4 separate regions of the Homo sapiens genome follow, and regions 1, 2 and 3 are each linked to region 4. Evidence: promoter capture Hi-C in 16 types of primary human blood cells and fetal thymus (Javierre and others, 2016). All regions are on one chromosome and are shown on one strand. The core of a region is centred on a gene start or on the middle of the fragment in contact, and the rest is flanking DNA. Distances in the headings are between cores, read along the strand shown.

Region 1 (3,575 bases), core at 868-3,367, 180 kb after region 4:
AATGATGTAAGCCACCATAAATTAAAGGATAGTGAAGAACGAACAGAGGTCCTGAGTAGATAGTCCATCCGTCTAATCATCATCTACCCATCATCCATCCATCCTTCCATCCATCCATCCTCCATCCATCTACTTATTTAAGAAATAATTATTAATACCTCGGTGGAGGAAAGTTCATCTGTATCCTCCTGACTCTTAGTCCTATTCAGGAATAACTGAGACCTCATACCTAGTTTGCCTTTAGGAAAATTACCGTCAAGGCACACACAGATTGTACCTTGGGCGGTGCTCTGGCAATAACAGATATCCTGTTGTGTGAACAATGGTCTATCCTGTCAACTCAAGCCATTTAATTTAATTTTAACTTTAATTTTTTCATTGAGACGGAGTCTCTGTTGCTGAGGCTGGAGTGCAGTAGCGCGATCTCGGTTCACTGCAACCTCTGCCTCCCTCCTGCGTTTAAGCGATTCTCCTGCCTCAGCCTCCTGAGTAGCTGGGATTGCAGGCTCCTGCCACCATGCCCGGCTAATTTTTGTATTTTTAGTAAAGACGAGGTTTCACCATGTTGGCCAGGCTGGTCTCGAAGTCATGACCTCAAGTGATCTGCCCACCTCGGCCTCCCAAAGTGCTGGGATTACAGGTGTAAGCCACCACGTCTGGCTTCAAGCCATTTTAAATCAGGCCCCCAAAACACTGGGTTGTCAGGAATTAGGGTAGAATGAGAGACATACTTAGATCAAATTGTGTTGAAGGAAGAGGGAGCCATTTAGACAAGAGACCCTTCTTCAAGAAGGGATACAGAGATGGATGGGAGTGGAAGTTCACGTCTCTCCCTCTATGTCTTCCATTCCTCCCCTGATTCTGCCTCTTCTACCCCCAACCCAAGAGCATGATTTGGTCCTTAAGAGCCAACCAGCCTCTTAGTTGACAGATGTGTGAACCTCTCTTAGAAATGCTGGAATAAACCCCACTCAAAAAGAAATCTGGAGTCTGGAAGAGAGGATCAGGTTTGGAGTCTACATGCGCCTAGATTCAAGTGCCAGCTCTAACACTTAGAAGTTGTATAATCTTTTTTTTTGAGACAGTTTCACTCAGTAGCCCAGGCTGGAGTGCCATGGCACGATCTTGGCTCACTGCAAACTTCACCTCCTGCATTCAAGTGATTCTCATGCCTCAGGCTCCTGAGGGGCAGGGATTACATGCTTGTGCTACCATACCCAGCTAATTTTTGTATTTTTAGTAGTGATGGGGTTTCACCATGTCGGCCAGGCTGGTCTCGAACATCTGACCTCAGATGATCTGCCCTCCTCCACCTCCCAAAGTGCTGGGATTATAGGTGTGAGCCACTATGCCTGTCCTCAAAGTTGTATAATCTTGATTAAGTCATTGAACTTCTCTAGGTCTTGGTTTTCTCATCTGTAAAATGGGGATACTAACCTTATACAGGTGGTTGAGAGGATTAAACCAAATAACAGGTGTGGGTATAATATTTCCCAAGCTATAACCTTGAGTATCCCCCAAATATCGAATTTTGTTTTTCTGTAATTTAAACAATATCTTGAGCTCCCATTTTAACTACTGATTAAATATAAACAACAATAACAAAATAGTCAATTCTAAGCAAATTCAGACACTTAAATGTGTTTCTTGGTCATTTTAGTTTTAAGCTTGCTCAAGTCAGTATTTTCTCCTTCTCTTTCTTCTCTCTGGGGAGTTCTCCTCTGTCCTGGGGTTGCTCAAGTGTTAGCTCCGTAGTGGAGAGAGACACCTGCCCTTGTTTATTTCCTGAAACTTAATTCATCTTGACTAGCCTTTGGTCCAGAATTTGCTGGCATCTTTTGGGACATCCACACACCTCCCTTACCTGTTACCAGGTCTGCACAAGTCCCTCTATACTCTTTTTGTCCTTCTTAGAGCCTCAGAGACCCTCCTAGGCCATTATCTTTAAAATGTTTTAAATTTACCTTAAATAAACAACTAACAAACCCATATCATCCACCATGACAAGGGTACAAAAAGGAAAACAAAATTCTCTCATCTGTCCTTGTCCCACAGCCCCCTACTTCTCCTCCCTAGGGGCAACCCTTTTTACCAGTTTCTTATGTGTCCCTTCAAAAATAATTTAAGCATATATATATATATGCTTGTAATGCATATATAGTCAATGCATTATATGTATTATATATATTATGCTTGTAAATGCATATATATTATGCTTGTAAATGCATATATATTAAAAATCATCTATCATTGATCTAAGTTCACTATGGACTTTAACTCGTACACACACACATACATATATATAACCTTGTTAACTGCCTTAGAAAACAAAGCCTAAGGCAAAGTTTCTGTGCTAACACTTTATGGAGGGACAATCTCAGAGCACAGCATGAGTCAGCGGAAAATGGAAGTGAGATGGTGTACTAATTTCCAAGTGCTGCCATAACAAAGTACTGCTAATACATACGGGATGGCTTAAAACAACAGAAAGGTATTCTCCCACAGTTCTGGAGGCTAGAAATATGAAGGCAAGCTGCCGGCAGGGCCATGCTTCCTTGGAAGCTTCTAGGAGGAGGATCCTTCCTTGTCTCTTCCAGTTTCTGGTAGCCCCAGATGTTCTTTGGCTTGTGGTGGTGTAATGCCCATCTCGGCCTCTGTTGTCACATAGCGTTCTCCCCTTGTGTCTGTGTCTGTGTGTCTCTCATCTTCTTATAACACCAGTCACCTTGGCTTAAGGACCCACCCAACTCCAGTATAACCTCGTCTTTTATTACATCTGCAATGATCCTATTTCCAAACAAGTTCACATTCTGAGGTACTGGGGGTTAGGACTTCAACATATGTTTGTGGGGGCACAATTCAACCCATAACAGGCAGGAAAGTAATCTCATGATGATGTTGCCAAGCTGGCTGAAGCTTCACAAGAAACACAAAGCATTTGGGTTCACATGGCAGATCTCCAGAGAGGCACATGGGGCCACTGTGCCTCAAAACAGTCTTTTTGGGATGTGAGGAAGAAACGAATTTATCTGCAGGATCTTATCCCCCATCTCTCATTGGTCAAAGTTCACCCACGGGGCTTCAACTCACTCATATTTTTAGATGGAGTTCCTGCCTCCTATGGACGGCCACTAGAGAAGCCAGATCCCGTGGCCCATGGCATAGCACTTCATCCAAGTCAGAAGTGTTGGGGGTGCCTGGGCCTCAGTGGGCCTGGGCGGGGTAGGTCCAGCGCTCAGGTGTAGAACCAGGAAGGGGCGGTAAAGCAAGAGCCTGTTGCAGGGTTGTTCCCAGGGCCAGCCTGCCTTACAATGGCCTCTGAGTCCCAAATCGTCTTCCTTCACATGGCTTGGACTCTTATTTTCTCTTAATTTATCTGTCAGAAACTGCAGAGAATTATCAGGCATCCATTAAGGGCTTAAAGGCAGACTCTGAAAAATTTGACTACGCCTGCGAGTATCAGCAACCATGTGGGAATCTTAACTTCCGGAGATTACTGTTCTCTTTTACAACTTTCAACTGATTTTTATTGAGCACCTACTAGGTGGCAGCCACTGTGTAAGGCACTAGGAATA
Region 2 (3,733 bases), core at 23-2,522, 190 kb after region 4:
TATATTTTTAGGTATTTTTTAAGAAGATGTACTGTTTAATTTTAAAGCTACTTTAGCATAAGACAAGGTAAAAAAGTAGGAACCTATAGATTAAAAAAGAAAAAAAAGGGCCTGGGGTATAATTGTTTTAAATGACGTGTTGATGTGTTGAGTTTAAAAATATTTTGATGTGTTCCAATGCATGGAAAACAAGATGGTCTGAAATCATTGTCCTGAACAAACTGTCCAATGTGATTACATATTTTGTGTGTGTACCTTGGCAAGGTCACGTTAACAAGTTTACATAATAATATACAGAAAACAGGAAGCCACCCAATAGACTGGAGTGAGCAGGGAGGGACAGGGAGGAGCAGAAAGACCGTCTCAAGAACTGCCACTTAGAGAAGAGGTGCTGAGAAGGAAAAGAGGTGAGCCGAGCGAGGTAAACAAAGCCTCAGGCCCATGCTTTCCAACAGGATTGTCTGCAATGGTGGGAATGATCGCGTCTGCGCTGTCCAATATGGTAGCCGCTAGTGCTGTTGAACACTTGCAATGGAACCAGCGAGACTGAGGGATTGAATTTTTATTTTAATTTTGTTTTACTTAATTTGAATTTAAACAGCCACATGGGGCAGTGGTTACCATACTAGATCGTGTTGCTCTGGGGTTTGTAACATCTTGGGAGGCATCAATGGGCTTAGAGAACTAAGAATGGAAAGGGGGCAGAGGATAAACATGGGGTAAATAAAAGCAGAAGAGGAAAGAAGGAGGGCAAGGAGCAGGAGAAAGAGTGACATTCAAGTGGAAAGGCATAGACTGAGAGGAATAATTGTCTTAAGTGATGAGTGGCCCCTGATCTCACTTGCTGAGACCTTCTGGTGTGATTCTGAGGTCTTCTGCAACCGCACACAGAAACAGTCTCTTCTAGAGCAATACTGTACTTGCTTACCCTGGGAGGCCTGTAGGTCTTCATCTCCTTATCTTATTGTGAAGGGAGCAAGGGTACACAATCCCAGGGACTCCCCTACTCCATTGTGTGAAATAAAATAGTTTACTCCAAGAAAACCCCACAGTTTTGATACTCCACTAGGTGTCACCATTAGCCAAAATGAGCTTTTATTTTTTATCGTTTTTAACCTGCAGAATTTGGTGAGTTTCTTCTCTGGGTCTATTGTTGATCTTTACAATTCATTTAGGTATTTTCCTACTTTGTCACAGACAAAGCAAAGTGGCTTGCGCTCCTGGAGGCTACCCAATAGGGATACTCATTCTAATTTGGTTTATTTTTCGTTGCAGTTAAAACTCAGTTACTAAGGCCGGATGTTGTGGCTCATGCCTGTAATCCCAACACTTTGGAAGTATGAGGCAGGAGGACCGCTTGAGACCAGGAGTTCCAGATTGGCCTGGGCAACATAGTGGGACCCCCATCTCTACAAAAAATTTTTAAAAATTAGCCAGGCATGAGGGCGTGCAACTGTAGTCCCAGCTACTTGGGAGGCTGAGGTGAGAGGAGCATTTGAGCCCTGAGCCCAGGAGATTGAGGCTGTAGTGAGCCATAATTGTGCCACTGCACAGACAGAGCTCTAGACCTTTTCTAAAAAAAAAAACAAAACAAAACAAAACAAAAAAACTTCTGCTAAATACCACAAATGTGTGTGTGTACACACGTGCTCGGCTTCCCAAAGTGCTGGGATTACAGGTGTGAGCCACCATGCCTGGCTAACATTCATTCTTAAATATTTACTGTGTGCTATGCAGGGGCCCCATGTACACTGCACAACTCTGGGGATGGGAGCAGAGGGCACAGTTTGCACAGACCTCAATGTAAATAGTGTTTCCTGAAGTTGTGCAGCCTAGCAGCTCTGCAAGACTCTGGTCTGGGCCATAAGAACTGTATTAGTCCATTTTCATGCTGCTGATAAAGACATACCCAAGACTAGGTAATTTATAAAGAAAAAGAGGTTTAATGGACTCACAGTACCACATGGCTGGGGAGGCCTCACAATCATGGTGGAAGGTGAAATGCATGTCTTACATGGTGGCAGACAAGAGAGAATGGGGGCCAAGAGAAAGGTGAAACCCTTTATAAAATCATCAGATCTCGTAAGACTTATTCCCTACCACACGAACAGTATGGGGGAAACCGCCCCTATGATTCAGTTATCTCCCTCCAGGTCCCTCCCACAACACATGGGATTATGGGAGCTGCAATTCAAGATAAGATTTGGGTGGGGACAGCCAAACCATATCAGGGACAAAATCATGAGGAAGATATGGGCCCTGCTTTTTCCATCCTCTCTGTTCTATTTCTTAGGAGAGTTCCTTAGTCTAAAACCTTCTTTGTAACTAGAAATATCTATGCCCTATATAAATTCTCAGAGTTATACATGTAACAGTTAGCTTTCCCTTCTATCCTTGTAAAAACAACTAAAGTTTAGTTCCTTTTCAGAGAAGTAACACCTCTCCCTGAGCATTATTTTATTAATAAGGCAAAGTATTATTCCAGCTGGATAAATCAAGTCATGGCCTTTGCCCTTGGGAAATTCAATAAGATCCAAAATAAAATCCTTAAGTTTTGCATATCTAAATTTGGCCTTTGAACAGAAGAGGAGTAGTAGCAATTGAACATGAATCTGGGGATCAGGACCCCTAGAATCTAGCCTGACTAGGCTTTCTTGGGGAATGTACCAGTTAGGTTGGGGGTAAAACAAACCACCCCAAAGCTTAGTGGCTTAAAGCAATGAACACTCATCATTTTTCATGATTCTGTGAGTCAGTTGAGCCGTTCTGATCTAGGCTGGTATGCAGATCGGAGGTGTGTAGGTGGCTCAACTGGGGTTGGCTGGCCTCCCTCACATACATGAAATTGACAGGCTGGTTAGTTGAGGAGGACTTAGCTGGGATGGTTTGTCTCTGCTCCATGTGATCTCTCCTCCTCCACTAGGCTAGCCCAGGCTTCACATAATGTTCTCAGCATGGTGGTCTCAGGGTATAAAAGAGCAGCAAGAGAAAGCAAGCTTCAGTGTGCAAGTGCTTGAATATTTCTTCTTGTGTCACATTTGCTCTTGTCCCATTGGCCAAAGAAAGATACATGGCTAAGCCTTGAGTCAGTGCGAAAGGTATTATCCAAGGATGTTGTAGAGAGAGGTATGAACAAATTAAGGACCAGTGTTGTAACAATCTACTGAAAAAATTAATTTAATTTCTCCTTATCTCAGTGTTTACCAAGATGATAATATTAATAACACTTTCTTGACCTACTTGCCAGGAAAGAAAAAAAATAAACACATGGAAGAAACTACTGTATATCATTCAAAGAAAAGGGACAACATAACTATTATTCATCTTACTTCAGTTTACTCATCTACCTTTTTCACGTCTCGTCCACAGCACGGCTAATCTATCTATGGGGCAATTAGGAATCCCACTTAGTGAAAATTCCTATCAAAAATAAAGGTAACAATTTCAAAAGAAAATTTTGTTTGTTTTCATAATTTTCACCAGCAAATTGGTACATTTTATGGGTTGTGTGTAAGGATACCCACTAAGGATGTAACTAGCAGGATTCTTCGAGAATAGAGACCCAGGAATGTCTAACCACAGGATAACTTTCACAATTGCCCTTATATGTTAGACTTGGCAGATACATTTTGGTTTTTTGTTTATTTGTTTGGAGAAGGAGACTTGTTCTGTCACCCAGGCTGGAGTGCAGTGGCACGATCTCCGCTCACTGCAACCTCCATCTCTCGGGTTC
Region 3 (3,270 bases), core at 86-2,585, 160 kb after region 4:
TTCAAAGTATTCCCCTATTAATTGCTGTAACTTTGGGAGGAAGGCGGGTTGGGGGGACTTATACCCATTTTATAGATAAAGAAACTGTGGACTAAAGTTACTCAACAGAACTGGGACTGAAACATCTGACATTTCCAAGACAGCATACTGATTCTGTAGCCACCAGAAGAGAAACTTTTTCCACTGGAAGACTACTATGAGCTGGGCACCGTGTTAGATGTTAGGAAGAACAGTGAACAAGACACACAAGAAAACAGTGAACAAGACCAGGGCCCAGTTTAGTGGAACTTGACCATGGTCCTCACTCTCGTCTCCAGTTTGTTCTTCTGTGCGGGGTGCTCGCTCTTGAACCTCACCTTAGCAGTGACTCTATGTGAATCCCTACTGGGGACATGCTCCGGAAAGGCAGCTATGATTGCCCATCAGCCAGATGTGCAGCTTCTCCAAGGCCACAGCTTATGGCCACTCTGTTTGGTCAGCTGGTGCCTTCACATGGCCGGTGATCAGACCCTGCACATGTCATCTCTCACATCTCAGAGACTTGGGGTCTCCAGGACCAAGCCAGAGCCCAGCGGCCAGAAGCCTGGCCTCACTTGTTGGTCCAAAGCTAACAGAGGAGCCTCCCCGGCGGGTATTCCCTTAACCACAGTCTGAATTACGATCCTTGGCCACAGACTGGTGACTTCTGTAAGTTAGGTGTTGAAGGTGGAAGAGTGGGGAAGAGGAAGGCGGGGGAGCTATTTTCATCTTGTCACAAGGGCTTAAAACACCAGTTTCTCTTGTGCCTTATTTAGATGAGTAGTCTTGACCTAAAAAAAGTCAAAGCTGTGACTCAGTTGAGCTCCGAAGTTGCTCAAAATGCTCTGAGCTCCTGTCTGGGGCTATACTGAAGAATGTCTTTGGATAGTGTGAGGTGGGCACCCTATTTGGGCAAATGAAAGAGCTTTGGAAATCATCCCCATGGTTTTCTGGCCCAGGATGAAAAGCACAGGGGTTTGAGAGTCCAACTTGCTGTTTTGGTCCACTCTTATTTTTAAACAGCATGATGGTGCGGGGAGGGGCTTGCCCATTTAAAGAGAAGTATGTTTCTAGCCTTCCAAAGCATAGGGTATGGGACTTCCAGACATGCCAAGGTGAGCTCAGAGACCAGGCCCCCACTGAGGAACCACATAGGCGATGTGTACCAGGGATGAGGTCCCCTGGGCAGAAGAGCCACTTGGCAGGGCCATGGGTGGGGAAAGTATGTTCATCACCAGGATGGCCTGAGGGAAGATTCTGGAGTCTGTGCATTTGCCTCTGGCGTCCCGAGCTGCCCTATGATCACTGCACAGCCCTATCCCAGGCCCCACTGTTGTGTCCTGTTCATGTCTTCTTTCCCAGAGAGTATCCCATACTCCAAAATGATCCCTTTGCCTGGCCACGCCTGTGTCTTTGTACTATTGTTTATTATTCATATAGAACCCCCATTGGCAGGAGAACAGTGTGCTCCCTCACTTTGTCCCATTGTCCAGGCTGTCTGGGCTCAGCATCTAAACAGGATGTATGTGAGGTGACCTGGCATAAGGCAGATTTGTGGGTTCTGGGAACTTGGGTTCAAATCCCACTCATGCTGCTTCCTGGCTTGGTGAACTTGGTCTAAGGCTGTTAACCTCCTTGAGCTTCCGTTTCCTTTTCTGTGACAATTTCATGGGCCACTAATCCACAGAAACATTTCTACCAATGGTTTCAGACAAATATGTGCAATAATGGTGGTCCTTGTACACATGTTGGAATCAGCCTTTGGTTGGAATGTCAATGCCAATACCACCCAACCATCCCCTCCAACATGGACAGGCTTGATGAAGTTATGGTCAGACTCTAACGATGGCTTTGACACCCAGAAGAATGTGTCATTCTCACAGCGCAGGCTCTGCAGCCAGACTACCTGGCTGCGTTTCTCAGGGCTTCCCCTACCTGGCTGAGTGGTCCTGGGAGCGCATTTTTGTCTCCTCATTGAGGGTGTGGGTAATACCAGTGCCCACCTCATGGTGTTGTGAAGATCAAATGAGCCGATTCATGTAAAGCTCTTAAAACTGCACCTGGCACCAAGCAGACACTTGATGAATATTATCACGAGTGGCTTATCTTTGTAAAGAATGCTCAGACGCATCATCTAATTTGCAACTTGATTTCTACAACATCCTGTGAGAGGTAGAGATCATATCATTTTGCAAATAAGGAAACTCAGATCCAAAGTGATAAAATGTCTCACTTGAGAACAGAGCCCAGGTTTTCTGCCCCTAAGATGAGTGCTCTATTTTCTCTGCTGCATGGACAGAAGTACTCTTAAAATTAAACAACAAAGGCCCCTCGCAGTCAAGTCACAAGTCGGTATTTTTGTAAATTCTTGTCAGGGACTGGATAAAAACAAGGATAGGTTTAGATGTGGTTTTTGGATAGTGGGTCTCCATTCCAATGTTAGCAGCAAGGTCCGGTGTGACCTGGCCGGTGACAACATTTCTGCAAAGGTGACCTCAGAGTTCCTCTAGGGCAGAAATGGGTGCTCTTTCTGGGCTGGTGGTGGGTGGGAAGGTGGTAAGAGAGGAGATGAGGGGTCAAGTGTATTCCCCCCTTTGGTGTCTTCCAACAAGCTATGTATTGAGGGAGTTTCTTCACTGGAGTTTGGCTGCTGTCATTACATGCCCACTTCAGTTAAATACAAATAATAATAAATTTGGTTAAAGCCAGAATCCAACATTCCAAATCGAAAAACAGTTCCAGAAATACAGAGGCAAATGCAACCAGAACCCTCTGCCTGTGGAAACAAGGATGACTGAGCACTGGTTCCCTTCATTTTGTCCCATTCCTTCCAGTCATCCACCTGCTCGTCCATGCAGTCATTCTGTCATCCAGCATGTGTTTATTCAGCTCTGCCTCTTACAGCCATCCCCATGACAGTTTCCTGTGGCTCATCCAGCAGTCACAGCCGCAGCTTAGAACAGTAGCCCTGGCGTCTCTCCTCAGGGGCAAACCTGGCAGTAGCTCAGCCTCTTTGGCTTGCCCCTTTTCCCTCCCTCTCTCCCTTTTAATCTGGACCAGTGTCCTCAGATGTGGCCAGGATGGTGATTTCCCAGAGTATGGCTGTTATTTTGTTTCCATATTTGGCCCACCTGGATGCCATGTGTTTAATTTCAAGGCACCATTGGGCCCTGTTTTTCCTCTGCTTCTCAGAAACGGGTCCTCCCAGAGTCAGCTCTTGGGTCCTCCCCTGCCACACGCAGCTGGTTCCAC
Region 4 (3,201 bases), core at 222-2,721:
TGTCACTCTAGTCTAATTCCTGGGCCTTGTTAAGCCCATCAAAATAGCCTTGTCCAGTCGGGGCCCAACCCCAAGTCCATCTTCTGTTTTCTTCCTACCAGCTCAAAAGAAAGGTGGGGTCACTACGCTGTTTCCTTCCACTCCTGTCGTGCTGCCAGCAAATAGCAGCTATGAACTTGGGTGGCAGTAAACTGGCTGAGTCTAGTTTTCCATGAACAGCCAGGGCCAGTTTGTTATATGATCAAGGGGGTGTTTTTCCTCAAAGGCAGCACGGGACTGGCAGAAGCTCAGTGAGAGGCTGGTTGAATAGCTCTGTGTTCTTGCCTGGGCCGCTCTGCCCATGAGGCTGGGACCATGGAGGGAGCCTGGCCTGGTGGTTCAGTGTCTATGTCTGTGTCTGGGGTGGGGGTTAGCAGATAAACACAAGATGTATTTGGGACATACTTACACTAAAATATTATTCACTGTTTATCTGAAATTCATATTTAACTGGGCAGCCTATATATTTGCTAAAATCTGGCAACCCTAGACTGGGCAAATCATACCACCTCGTGGAGCATCAGTTTGCTAATTTGAAAAATTAGGCTAAGCCACCCTCCTTAGGAATACTGTGTAAATCAGTAATTCATCTACTCCTGGAGTCTGGTTTGGCTCAGCTGACCTGAGCACCCTGGCTTCTCCACCTCTGGCTCCCCACCCTCTCTTTCCTCCGTAGTTTCCCAGGCCTTGAGGGCTGCTTGCTAGGCCTAATGGAGGGGTGAGCTGATTGCTGCATCTGGAAGCCTTTTCCCAGAGCCTGACCTTGAAAATCCAGGCCCAGCTGGACCCACCCAGCACTTAATGACTACCAGTACGGAGGCCCCACTTCTTGGTGTTTGCATGAAGCAGCCCAGGACCTGTGAGGCTAAGAGGAGGATTAGCAATTGTTTCCCTCATGATTTTATTGTCTCCTGGGGACCCTGCTTTGGGCGGTCTGGATGTCTGCCTTGGGCCTAGTTTGAGGCGCCCCGAAGGTGGAGCCATCTTGGTCTCGTAATTTGCTCTTCCCTGCCCCCCAAGAGGGAAGCCAGAGCTAGCGGGGCCAGCACTGCTCAGGAGGCAAGGTGGCCTACCTGTCGCACACCCGGAGGAGGAAATCATTGACCAGGCTCTCGTGCCGGCTGCAGATGCTTCTCTGGAAGGCACTCTTGAGCCAGTCCTCAATGCTGCACACCTGCACGCGGCTGGAGTGCCAGCAGATGGAGAGGCTGCGGAGTGCCGGGCCCAGGAGGAAGTTGTCCTTCTGGAGTTCAGTGAGGGAACGGAAGTGCAGCAGGGACCAGAGTGCGGGGTCCTCAAACACGTCGTGGAGCTGGGAGCAGGTCCTGGCAAGGCTCTTCCTGCTGTCCTTGTCTAGGAAGGAGAAGAGGTGCAGCAGGCACTCCCGGTTGAGCTGGGTTATGTGCATGGTGAGCAGTGGCCACATGTGAGTGCAGCTGCAGCCGGGGGACGGCTGACCTGCCTCCTCTCCTCCTCCCCGACTCTGGGCCGGTGGACATATATGGTTGAGGAATGGTGTTTATTTTTGGCTAACAACTGGTGCTGAAGCTCTGCGGAGGGGTGAGGGAAGAAAAGCCAGGACCCAGACACATGTGCGGCAGTCTGTGGTTCGGCTTATGTTCAGAGGGATTGGAGGTCCTGGCAGAAAAGGAGCCTATTGAAGTTACTTTCCTTAAAAGGGATTTTTTTTTTCCCTTTAGCTGACAATGGTGTTTAGCAGTGAGCACTTTTGGCTTTTCCCAAGGCGTTTTCATTGGCAGTGGTGGCGGCCAGGCCAGCTCTGTCTGGCTTTGCAGTCTGTACTTAGGGGGAAGGAGTGTAATTGTAAATGTTAACTGTTTTGATTTTCTAGTACATCAGTGTGAATCTTTTGCTCCACCCTTACTAGGAAGAAACCTGTTGCGTGTGGAGAGCTAAGGGTGACGGTTGTGAGTTGTGAGCAGAGTCCATGGCTGCTGCCTCATTCCTGTTATTTTTGTGCCATAGAGTAATTGTCTCCAGGCTAGGCTGGTTGGCCTTCAAGCCCTGCTGCCTGCCACTAGGCAGGGGGATTTTCCTGGGCCTCCCCAACAGCTAGATTTTTACCCTGAGTTGTTTCATAAAAGAATTTTACTGAAGTAGCTGCTTTCCAAAGTTGTGTGTCTGTGTTTTATGTTTTATTGGTGCTTTGTTGTTGTTGTTGTTGTTTTTGTAGTTTTGGTCAAGCAGTACTTTCTGTGTTTTAAATTTAAATTTACTTGGCTTTACATTTTCTCACTGATAAGGCCTTGTACTATGTATAACCTGTACTTCCCAAAATGTCAGGATGGATGAGGTAGCTCTTAATGTGAAACTGCTTGAAACAATTTTAAGTTCAGTATTTTAGTCCATCTTTGCCTTTAAGTTGACCACACACCATCCATTCTATGAGTGCCCTCCGTTCCCTCTTGGAGAAGCCAGTGGGCCACCCCTGCCCTCTCTGACTCAACTCTAGGCAAGGTGCCTGGAGGTACTATCCGTGAAGCTCCCCCTTCCTGAGTACCCGAGGCTTCACGATATGGCAGACCCGTTTCCTCATGCTGCTTCACTCCCAAACCCAGGACCCAACCTTAACTCTCCTGCTTTGAATCCCAGTCGTTGTTTTTTGGTTTGCTTGGGGGATGCTGATATGGTGCAGCTGTATAGGCCACGTTCTGCCTAGGCAATAGTGAGAAGAGAATGGTTTTTCCTCTGCCAGCCCAGGGACCACCACCTCAGTGGTTACTTCTGTTTGTTCTCCCATTTGGAATAAGAGGGAATGGGAATCCTTGTGTTTTCCCATAGACACAAATGAAGCAGCCTATGCTGAACCCACTTCTGGAACTAAGGTTTGGTCAGGGCTGGTGCAGCTTTGCCTTTAAAGCAGAAGGCAGTCAAGCAAAGAAGGAAGTAGCCATTGTCAGTGGCTTTCCTGAGAAGCCAGCCTCAGCTGGTGCCCCTGTGCCTCCATTACTCCACCATGCCAAGATGAAGTACAGTAGGGGGTTCTCTTAAAAACAAACCAAGGAGGTCGAAAGGAAGCATTTCCCAAGGAAGGGGAGCAAGATACTGCTGCTATTTCAAGCTCATCAATGTAGTTCTGAATTATAGCTGACACCCTAATTTAGGCTCTGTCTAGGTGTACTTCTCCACTTAAAATGGATG

The links. Contacts are between HindIII fragments. The CHiCAGO score rates a contact against its expected background, and 5 or more counts as called.
Region 1: a contact is called between a fragment that was not itself captured here and the fragment with the promoter of FBXL22 in region 4, in 2 of 17 cell types (M1 macrophages and endothelial precursors). The highest score is 5.7, in M1 macrophages.
Region 2: a contact is called between a fragment that was not itself captured here and the fragment with the promoter of FBXL22 in region 4, in 2 of 17 cell types (M1 macrophages and M2 macrophages). The highest score is 6.5, in M1 macrophages.
Region 3: a contact is called between a fragment that was not itself captured here and the fragment with the promoter of FBXL22 in region 4, in 1 of 17 cell types (non-activated CD4 T cells). The highest score is 6.1, in non-activated CD4 T cells.

The regions. Positions count from the first base shown.
Region 1 is chr15:63,419,483-63,423,057 of GRCh38, reverse strand. All of the region lies in intron 4 of LINC02568 (long intergenic non-protein coding RNA 2568), which reads right to left. Among named protein-coding and RNA genes, the nearest start is that of LINC02568, 31 kb to the right of the region's middle. The HindIII fragment of the contact is 895 bases long and covers 1,670-2,564 here.
Region 2 is chr15:63,400,327-63,404,059 of GRCh38, reverse strand. All of the region lies in intron 4 of LINC02568 (long intergenic non-protein coding RNA 2568), which reads right to left. Among named protein-coding and RNA genes, the nearest start is that of LINC02568, 12 kb to the right of the region's middle. The HindIII fragment of the contact is 2,865 bases long and covers 1-2,704 here.
Region 3 is chr15:63,439,767-63,443,036 of GRCh38, reverse strand. No RefSeq gene overlaps it. Among named protein-coding and RNA genes, the nearest start is that of LINC02568, 51 kb to the right of the region's middle. The HindIII fragment of the contact is 6,752 bases long and covers 1-3,270 here.
Region 4 is chr15:63,595,657-63,598,857 of GRCh38, reverse strand. It overlaps FBXL22 (F-box and leucine rich repeat protein 22), which reads right to left and starts at 1,471. Exons shown (of 2, transcript NM_001367807.1): 1 at 1,113-1,471. The coding sequence starts at 1,465. All of the region lies in intron 1 of USP3-AS1 (USP3 antisense RNA 1), which reads left to right. The HindIII fragment of the contact is 9,685 bases long and covers 1-3,201 here.